Linked DNA regions of Homo sapiens: region 2 is linked to region 1. Evidence: promoter capture Hi-C in 16 types of primary human blood cells and fetal thymus (Javierre and others, 2016). All regions are on one chromosome and are shown on one strand. The core of a region is centred on a gene start or on the middle of the fragment in contact, and the rest is flanking DNA. Distances in the headings are between cores, read along the strand shown. Region 1 holds the start of RRM2 (ribonucleotide reductase regulatory subunit M2). Region 2 overlaps KIDINS220 (kinase D interacting substrate 220).

Region 1 (5,245 bases), core at 2,493-4,992:
CCTGACCTCAGGTGATCTGCCTGCCTCACCCTCCCAAAGTGCTGGGATTACAGGCGTGAACCTCCAAGCAGGGCCTAATAAAGCCTTTTGACCTAACTTCCAGTGTAGAGTACAGGGGTCAGGAAAACAAGTTCATTGACACTGTGAATAAACAATTAGGCAAATGTAGAATGTGGGACATTCTACAAGAAAACTGGCCTGTACTTCAAAGTCAATGTCGTGGGGAAAAGAAGTGGAGGAGCTTTACTAAGAGTCTAAAGCAACATAATAAACGCAATGCATGTGATTAATTAGATACTGCACAAAAAAATAAATCCAAAAAACTATGAGACATTTTTGAAACAATTGGAAAAACAGGAATATGGACTGGATATTAGGTTATATTAGAGAATTATTGTTAGTTTTCCTAGGGATAAATGTGGTATTGTGGTGATATTAACAGAGTGTCCTAATTTTTAGGAGCTGAAACGTTTAGGGGTGATGGGTTATGATATCTATCACTCACTTTCAAATGATCCATAAAAAAGCATAAGCCTCATACACCCACAGAGGGGGTGTCTGCCACATTTGCCATGAAGCAAATATGGCAAAATGGAAACAGCTGTTGAATCCTAGCTGGTGGGTGAACACTAGGAATCCTTCCATTATTCTGTATGTTGAAAACATTCATAGTAAAAAGCTAGGCTAAAAACGTTCTGCTGTGCAGTTGTGCTGTGCGACCTTGGGCAGTTTCCTTGCCTCCCAGGCCTTCATTTCATCACCTATGAAAAGGGTTAAAAATACCAACCCCGGTGGGGCGGTGGCTCACGCCTGTAATCTGAGCATTTTGGGAGGCCAAGGCGGGTGGATGGCTTGAGCCCAGGGGTTCAAGACCAGCCCGGGTAACATACCGAGAACCCATCTCTACAAAAAATTAAAAAATTAGCCTGGCGTAGTGGTGCCTGCCTTGAGTCCCAGCTACTCGGGAGGCTGAGGTGGGAGGATCGCTTGAGCTCGGATAGTTGAGGCTGCAGTGAGCTATCATGGAGCCACCAGACTGGGCAACAGAGCAAGACCCTGTCTCAAAACAAAAAACAAAAAACTCAAACAGCCTCACATGATCCAGGCGCCCAGAGGCTGTGGGTGCTGCAGCCTTAATTATTATTATGACCACCTTCGGCACGGCGTCTGGTACACAGTGAGTGCTGAGCTCCCCGAGCCGCGGTTTCTCCACCCTAATGGTGAACAGCCTTTTGGAAGTCGCGCTAACCTTGGCCTGAGACCTGCAAACTTGCCCAGGCTGGGGCGTGTGAACCGGCGAGCGCGCAGCGGAAACGGGGCGGGGCACCTGAGGCTGGGAATGCAGAGGAGCCTTCCGGGGGGCGGGGCGGGGCCTCCCGTGCAGACCAATGGTGGAGTAGATGCAGATGTCAAAACGCGCGCTCAAGTGGCTTCCGCCAGGAATCCCGACGCTTAGGGAGGCGGAGGGAGGATCGCTTGAGACCAGCCTGGGCAAACAAGCGAGACCCTCGTCTGTTTACTTAAATAAAACCAAAAAAACGAGCACCGAGGGAAAAAGGAGTGAATCCCGGGGCTAGCAGCAGCCTGCGGCGGGCGCTCTCCCGGGAGTGGCTGCACCGCCCGACCTCCCCGGAGGCGGAACCGCCCGCATTGCCGCGTGGCCCTGGGCGCCGCCACCTCCTCCGCAGCGGGGCAAAGTTGCCGGACCTGGGGGCAGGAGGGCCACGCCGAGATGACTCAGGTTTAGCGCGGGAGGGGAGGATGGCGACTTCACCCGGCCTTTAACAACACGTACGCATCTTTCGGCGTCTTCTACAATGGCTATGTTAATTACGTGGCCAGGAACTAAACTATCAATGAAGCCACCTCTGACTACTTCAGTTACAGTGAGTTTAACAGGAGCAAAAAAGCACGTGGCGCCCTAGGGCAACCGAAACGAGGGTTTTAGACGCTGATTATGGGAAATTGAAATCTGAGTTGAGTATGAGATGACACCAATAAATTATAATTTTGTTAGATAATAGCTTTATCAGCCATAAAGTAATCAATAAAAATACCAGTTTCCTGGAGATGGATGCTTTAGTGTGTTTGGGGTGAAAATGGCGATGAATGGCGAGTTGCTTTAAACAAATCATGGTACACCAAAGTTTTAGTTGTGGCTTTGTGTAAGGAATGTGATGGGCACTTATTCCTGCAACACGAGAATACTATGATTTACAAGTCCGTAGTACTTTTAAGAAATGAGAGAAACAGACCTAGGTGGGGAGGGTACCTGTCCCACCCCACCCTCTTTAAAGTATCTTATCTAGAAAAGGCTTTGTGAAAAAAAAAGTCCCGGGTCTCTCTCAATAACAGCCCTGAGCGCAGCTGTTGAAGCTTTCTCAGGTTAATGATTTCTTTCTTGGATCTTAAAGTTTCTTTCTCTTCCTTTATTTTTGGCATTTTGCCCGTTGCAGGGCCTGGCAAATCAGAAAGCCACATAGAAAATTAAATGAAAGCTATTGCTAAGTTCCAGTCTCTACACCAGTGGAGTTTTCAAACTCCTCTTCAGCATATTTGACGCCCAATGAGTAGTACATTAATTCCTAGTCCTAAAATCATTCTGTGAACTTTCTCCCAGGAATTTTTGCTCAGTTTGCAATTAAAACAACTTTTTTTCTTCTCTTTTTAATGGCAGAGGCGGGGTCTCACTATGTTGCCCAGGATGGTCTCCAGCTCCTGGCCTCAAACAATCCTCCTGCCTTGGCCTCCCAAAGTGCTGGGATTACAGGCGTGAGCCACCGCGCCCAGCCACAGTTTGCAATTCTTAAGGCAAGGGTGACAATAGGGGTCAGGGGTCTGACAGGAGACAGGATTTCTGTGGAAAACTGCACCAAGGGCCTTCTCGCCATGTCCCGTAGTTTGAAGGTTTACAAAGGACTGCACATTTTACATGAGTCATCTCAACGAACGCTCTCCTCACCGCATTAACAGTCCACGCGGTTACGAGTCCCATTTTACTCACGGGGACACCGAATCTGTAAGAAGCCTGGTCGCTTGTCCCAGCAAAACGAGCCACGGGGCTCAGCGGCCCTAACTTTTAGGCTGTAGGGTCCTCGCCGACCACCCCGCCAAAATGTCAGGCCTCGGGGCCCTTGCACCCCCACCGCAGGGACACGGATCGAAAGGGTCGCAGCAACGCCTCCCCCGCACCCAGGAGCGTTTTCCAGGCCTTTGCACCAACCTCGTTGGCTAAGCCCCCTGCCCGGCGGCGGCCCGGCTGGGAGGAGGTGCTTTCGGGAGGCGGGGCCGCGGCCCGGGGATCCTCTCGCGCCCGCGGGCTCCAATCGCTGCTCCTCACGCAATCCTAAACGGTTCCCGGGCGAACCGGGGCCCGCGCGCGCCAAGGCCGCCGAGACCCTCAGGGGCTGCGGCCCTGGTCCCGCGGGACCTGTGGGGGCCTGGGCGGCGGCGCCCCCGACCCAGCCAGCGGACGGGCCGGGGGGGGAACCGGGAGGTCCCGGGGGGCGTCCACGGGGGTGTCCCCGGGGGTCTCCGGAAGGCGCCGGCGGAGGCTCCCGCGCTGCGCTTGAAAATCGCGCGCGGCCCCGCGGCCAGCCTGGGTAGGGGCAAGGCGCAGCCAATGGGAAGGGTCGGAGGCATGGCACAGCCAATGGGAAGGGCCGGGGCACCAAAGCCAATGGGAAGGGCCGGGAGCGCGCGGCGCGGGAGATTTAAAGGCTGCTGGAGTGAGGGGTCGCCCGTGCACCCTGTCCCAGCCGTCCTGTCCTGGCTGCTCGCTCTGCTTCGCTGCGCCTCCACTATGCTCTCCCTCCGTGTCCCGCTCGCGCCCATCACGGACCCGCAGCAGCTGCAGCTCTCGCCGCTGAAGGGGCTCAGCTTGGTCGACAAGGAGAACACGGTGAGCCCGCGGGGAGGGCGCTGCGGGCAGGGGAGGGAGGCAGGGAAAGCGAAGCCGCTCCTCACTCACACGCGTCTCCCCGCAGCCGCCGGCCCTGAGCGGGACCCGCGTCCTGGCCAGCAAGACCGCGAGGAGGATCTTCCAGGAGCCCACGGAGCCGGTGAGTGGCGGGCGTGGGGCAGAGGGGCCAGGGACGGCCTTGGGCGTCTTGGCGCCAAAGCCGCATTGTTTCCTCAGCTGTTCACACTCCCGCCCCGGCTCCTTTCCCGCCTAGGCGGCCCCTCCCCAGGGCTGCCTCCCGCGCCCCTCGGCCCATTTCCCGGTTCGGGCGTGCGCTCCTCTGCTGCGACCCACGGAGTGCGACGGGACAGCCACGTTTTCACATCGGGCCCCGTGAAATTGCCGCCAATGGAAAGGACTTGGTCCAGAAAAACGTTAGTTTCATATGGTTCGCCCGGTACTTAAATGTTTTATTTTCTCCCCCAACAGAAAACTAAAGCAGCTGCCCCCGGCGTGGAGGATGAGCCGCTGCTGAGAGAAAACCCCCGCCGCTTTGTCATCTTCCCCATCGAGTACCATGATATCTGGCAGATGTATAAGAAGGCAGAGGCTTCCTTTTGGACCGCCGAGGAGGTAATCGGAGGACCCCAGAAGACCCCTGCAGGGGTGACCGTCACGCCTCAGACATAAATGCACTTGGAGGTTCCCGTTGGCAAGGGGGGCTAACTGTGGGGCATAGTAAGTGGTGCCAGCATACTTAAAGTTTGAGTGCTCAGTGTGAGTCCTGTAGGCTTTACTCTCTTCCTTTTATGCTAAAATTGTGACTTCCGAACCTCAGGTGGACCTCTCCAAGGACATTCAGCACTGGGAATCCCTGAAACCCGAGGAGAGATATTTTATATCCCATGTTCTGGCTTTCTTTGCAGCAAGCGATGGCATAGTAAATGAAAACTTGGTGAGTTTCCAAAACATCTTTCATTCATTTGACGTTGACGATCTGAGGTCGAACTAGTTCGCTTTCCTCGTCTTGTATGTTTTTCCATGCTGAGTGCATCTGTGTGTGTAAGCTGGGTTTTATATTACATGGCATTTCCTGTTTTGTAACACTTTGCAGTTCTTTCTTATGGTATTTTCCCGACTCTAGAGAAGCTGAGACAATATTAAGTGGTAGCAATGTGATGACTCTTTGTGGCCACCACATCTGCCCCCTCTTTTTTTTTTTTTTTTTGAGACAGAGTCTCACTCTGGCCCAGGCTGGAGTGCAGTGGTGTGATCTTGGCTCACTGCAACCTCCGCCTCCTGGGTTCAAGCGATTCCCCAACCTCAGCCTCATGAGTACCTGGG
Region 2 (4,728 bases), core at 1,223-3,722, 1.3 Mb before region 1:
GAAAAGTGTGGAAGGACACACACCTGGCTGTAAAATTCGTTATCTTACCATGTAGGACTAAAAGGAGGAGATGATTAGCTTTGCCTTCACGCGTCTTTGTGCTATATTGTTTTACTTGATGTATTAAGTCTACGTTCATTTTCAATAGAAAAAAAAATGTTTCATCACAGGAGGAAAACTACAGCTTCTCATCTTTCACATTTCAGTTCAACGTTCACTTCCAAAAGCCCTTTCGGCTTAAAACGAAGCTGTCTAGTGGTCAAAAGTATGGACCCTAGAGCCAGACTACCTTGGTTTGACTCCTGACTTTACTACTGACCATTATATCATCCCAGGCTAGTTTCTTTTTTTTTTCCTTAATTTTTTTAACTAATACATAATAATTGTACATGTTTATGGGGTATGTGTAATATTTGGATTACATGCATAGGATGTGTGATGATCAAATCAGAGTATTTAGGATATCCATCACCTCAAACTTTTCTCATTTCTTGGTGCTGGGAACATCTCAAATCTTATCTTCTAGCTACTTTAAAATATACCATAAAAAATAAAATACACAATAAACTGTTAAGCATAGTACCATGCTGCTGAACACTACAGCTTACTCCTTCTACCTAACTGTATGTCTGTACTTATTAACCAGCCTCTCTTTATCACTCCCTGTCCCCTGGGGTAGTTTCTTCACCTCAGTGTCTGAGTTTCCCCATCTTCAAATAACTGCACAATTACATGCAATGGGATTAAAATAATACCTAACCCATATGAAGCCAATAAATATTAGCTGTTTTACATAATAACAGAATATGATCATTTCTTAACCACCCTTTCTTGGTTGATTCTCATAACCTGGATTGTTCTCTATTATGGAATCTTTTTTATTCCTTCATAACACTTTACTAAACTTGTAATTTACATATTTATGTTTTTTAAATTTGTCTTTTTTTTTTTTTTTTTTAGCTACACCTGCTGGAATGGGACATATTTACCTGATTAATAGCTGTCTCTCCCACTAGGATATAAGCTTTTAAAAGGAATGAATTATTTTCTTTCGTTCTATACCAAATACCCAACACTTAGCTTAATAGCTGGCCCATACAAGACACTATATTTCTTGAATAAATGGACATCAGTTGAATCTAATGTCCACAGCACTTTCTCTCTAATGGGAATATAAGGCTATACATTCTTTTGCACAATTAGCAAAAAAATTAATGTCTTGCCACCCGTTTTGAAAATGGCAGATGTAGCCAACAGCAATGTCAGAACAAAAAATTTATGTTGTAGTAAGTCCATTTTTAGAACTTGCCAATTTAATAGGCAAAATCTCTAAATGTATTCAAAATGCTTTCACCAAAAGGCCAATCGGTTAATAGACGCACCCTATAACTTTTCTCCGGTTACAGACACAGTGCATGAAAGCAACAATAGTGCCATGCTGCCCAAGGCTTACTTATTTCTTATCCTCCAGATACGACACAGTAAGTTCCTGAATGTGGCCCCTCCCATGGTTCTCTATCTCCAGCCCCTCTTCTCCTCCTCCCACTTAAGTCTCCAGCAACAATCACCCCTGTGCAGTCCCCAGAGCCTACCCTGGTGCTGACATTCCTGGGCCTGGGTGGCAGCGCTTGCCCCCTCCACACAGAGGCCTAAGTGGTCCTCCTGAATCGTGTCTTCTTACAACCATTCTGTGCTCAAAACATCCCAACGGTTGTCCTCTCACTCAAAATCCCAGATCCCTACCAGGGCCAAGGCCTTGCTTGATCTATTCCACCCCTTCTCCACCTCCCTAAGCTCAACTCTTGCTGCTCCTTCTCCTTGACTCTACTCAGGCCACAGTGACTTTCTGTACATACGTCACCTGATCAGAGCTTCTCTGACCACCGTGTATAAATGGTGTATACCATTTATACGTGTATAAAACAGCCCTCTCCCCCTCTACTATATCCCCCTTCCACAGCCCTACTTTAAAGGTCTTCTTTATAACACCTAGCATCACTCCACATACCACATACTTTGTTTTTGGTCTGCTTCCCCTAGCCAAACAAATGTAGCTCAATGAGAATAAAGACTATCTGTTTTGTTTACTGCTGAATCTCCAGCACTTAAGAGAAGTGCCTGGTACACCACAGAACCCAGTATCGGTAGAATGAATGGACATGCCCAAGCTGATCCAACCACCTGTAATGCCTGACCCAACTTTAACATTCTTAACAAGCCAAAACACACCCTTCAAAACCCCCCTCGCGGGTCACCTATAAACTAACTTATGTATGTATATGTATGTATGTATGTATGTATTTAGTTATTTATTTTTATTGAGACAGGGTCTGGCTCTATTGCCCAGGATGGAGTGCAGTGGCACATTCATAGCTCACTGCAGACTCAAACTCCTGGACTCAAGCGATCCTCCTGCCTCACCCTCCCTGAATAGCTGGGACTACAGGTGCATGCCAACACACCCAGATCATTGTTTACATTTTTAATTTTTGTAGAGACAGGACTTGCTATATTGCCGAGGCTGCTCTTGAACTCCTAGCCTGAAGTGATCCTCCTGCCTTAGCCTCCCAAAGCACTGAGATTACAGGTGTGAGCCTGCATGCCCAGCCTTGAACTAATTTATTAAGGGCTGTCTCTCTCCTTCATTCTTACATCCCCAGAACCTATTACAGATCTAGAACAGGTAGAAACTTAATAGATAACCATCAAATTAAATAACTGCATAGGTATGCTAAAGATACCTCTTCTGAAGGACTTTGCCCACCCACAGCCCCTGCTACCCTCAACAGCCATGTTCTCTAGCATCAGCCATTCCCAGGGATGGGCATATGATCTGTGGCATGAAACTGTTGAAAAAGATAAGCTGGGCCAATCAGACTTCTCTCTCTAGAACTGGGAATTAGAAACCAGAGACTGGGCCAATCAATATGGGTCACACATAAAATGATACAGTTCTGAGACAGCCAATCAGCAAAGAGAGAATACAACAGATATGAACAGAAAAGAGACTCCTCCTAAGTAAGAGAACAAATGTGGCCCCTAAGAGGAGGTCAGGGCTGCAGTGAGCCAAGATCACACCACCTGCACTCCAGCCTGGGCAACAGAGCCAGACCCTGTCTCAAAAAAAAAAAAAAAAAAAAAAAGTTGCCCCAGGGAGATGTAGAAAATGGAGGTACCTGGGATCCTGACTTCTTTCTGACTCTCATTCAATCCTATTATCTCCTTTTCCTTGAAGTAAAAGGTTTAAGTTTCTACTGTCTTCTAAACAGCCCTGACAAATACAGTAGCACATAAAATGGAGAAACTGACCGTTCTTGAGCAAAAGCAGGAAGAAGGGGATGGCACATTCATACATGATCCTATAAAAATTAATCTGGCAGTGTATGTGACCCAGACTGGAAAAATACAAAGAATCAGGGCCCTAGATACCAGTCAAGGAATCACCAGACAGTACACAAGAGAGGCAGTGGGAATAGAGAAGAAATGAGGGATATTAACTTGAAAAATATAAAATCCCTGACATTTGAACTTTCTGAACTACCAAAATATCCAGAAGAGATATTCTGGATATAAAGATAAAACTATGTGACTGGTTGGAAAAGAAAACAGGTGGAAGATGACCAGATGCCCAGCATAGGTGACTGAAGAATGGAGCTGCCCTTAACCAAAAAAAAAAAAGCAGGAGAAAGAGCAGACTTTTCTCTACTTAAGTTATGCCTCCTCCCTTCCACCACCCCAGCTGGGCGAATGGGGCTTTGGCCAGGCTGAATTTGAAGTGTCCCAAAAGAACTAGGTTGGAGAAACCCACCCAATACTTGGAAAAAGATACCGTTCACACTGTGTGTGAATGATCTGGAAATTATTCACACAAAGGGTGTAGAACAAGGATTCTCAAACTTGTGTGCACCAAAATTATTTGGGAAGCTTGTCAAATACACATATCCCTTGAGCTCCTCCCCGGGAGAATCCCATTCCCTAGATCTGGGGTGGTGCCCAGAAACTGACATTTTAACAAGCACCCCAAAATGATTCTGATGAAAGTAGTCCATGCTAGTAAAGCTAGAAGAGAACAAAGAACACACCTGGCCACGGCATTTCCCAACCTGGGCTCTGCACTCAATACCCCACGGTGGTTTAAAAAGGTGTAGATGTCTGGTCCTCAGTGTTGTCAAAATGTGGACAGGAACGAACCTGAAGGGGTGATTCCCGAGCCACACCTCAGGCCGAAGGAATGGGAATCTCTAAAACGCTAAGAAATCTACATTTTTAACAAGCGCCCATAGGGAGCAGAGATGGCTGCATAGTTATTCATAAAAAAATTTTTCATCGGTTTAAACCTGTCAACTTGAAAGAATAAAAATTCCAACATTACAAAGTGATGAAGAAATTATTTCCCTATAAATAAATCTTGGAGGCGTGGAAATCAATGGCTTGCACTATTTTGCCAGGCGTTTAAAAGCCTGCACAGGACAATGGAGCAATGGAGCCCACGATAAAAGCAAGGGAGAAAACAACACCTCCCGGCCCGTGGAAGCCTAGGAGGAGGAACCTAGAAAGACTAGCGGTACCAGCTAAGGGGGCTCTCAAGGTGGTGGATGTGCCAGAGGCTGCTTGGCAAAAGAAAAAAAACGGTTTTACCAACACCCTTCACCCCAACCCACCCGAGGGGCCCCTCAGGAGACAGACCACCAGAGACTCCAAGGTCGGAGACCTTCCCGGCGCTCCAGG

Evidence for each region. The method cuts DNA at HindIII sites, captures the fragments that hold promoters and counts their contacts. A CHiCAGO score of 5 or more calls a contact.
Region 2: a contact is called between a fragment that was not itself captured here and the fragment with the promoter of RRM2 in region 1, in 1 of 17 cell types (fetal thymus). The highest score is 6.2, in fetal thymus.

The regions. Positions count from the first base shown.
Region 1 is chr2:10,118,997-10,124,241 of GRCh38, forward strand. RRM2 (ribonucleotide reductase regulatory subunit M2) reads left to right here and starts at 3,743. Exons shown (of 10, transcript NM_001034.4): 1 at 3,743-3,901; 2 at 3,987-4,061; 3 at 4,391-4,534; 4 at 4,740-4,856. The coding sequence starts at 3,803. RefSeq lists enhancers at 530-1,473, 1,474-2,416, 2,465-3,020, 2,778-2,847, 2,868-2,977 and silencers at 3,198-3,797, 3,204-3,704. The HindIII fragment of the contact is 3,317 bases long and covers 2,375-5,245 here.
Region 2 is chr2:8,832,540-8,837,267 of GRCh38, forward strand. All of the region lies in intron 1 of KIDINS220 (kinase D interacting substrate 220), which reads right to left. Among named protein-coding and RNA genes, the nearest start is that of KIDINS220, 2.7 kb to the right of the region's middle. The HindIII fragment of the contact is 2,900 bases long and covers 1,023-3,922 here.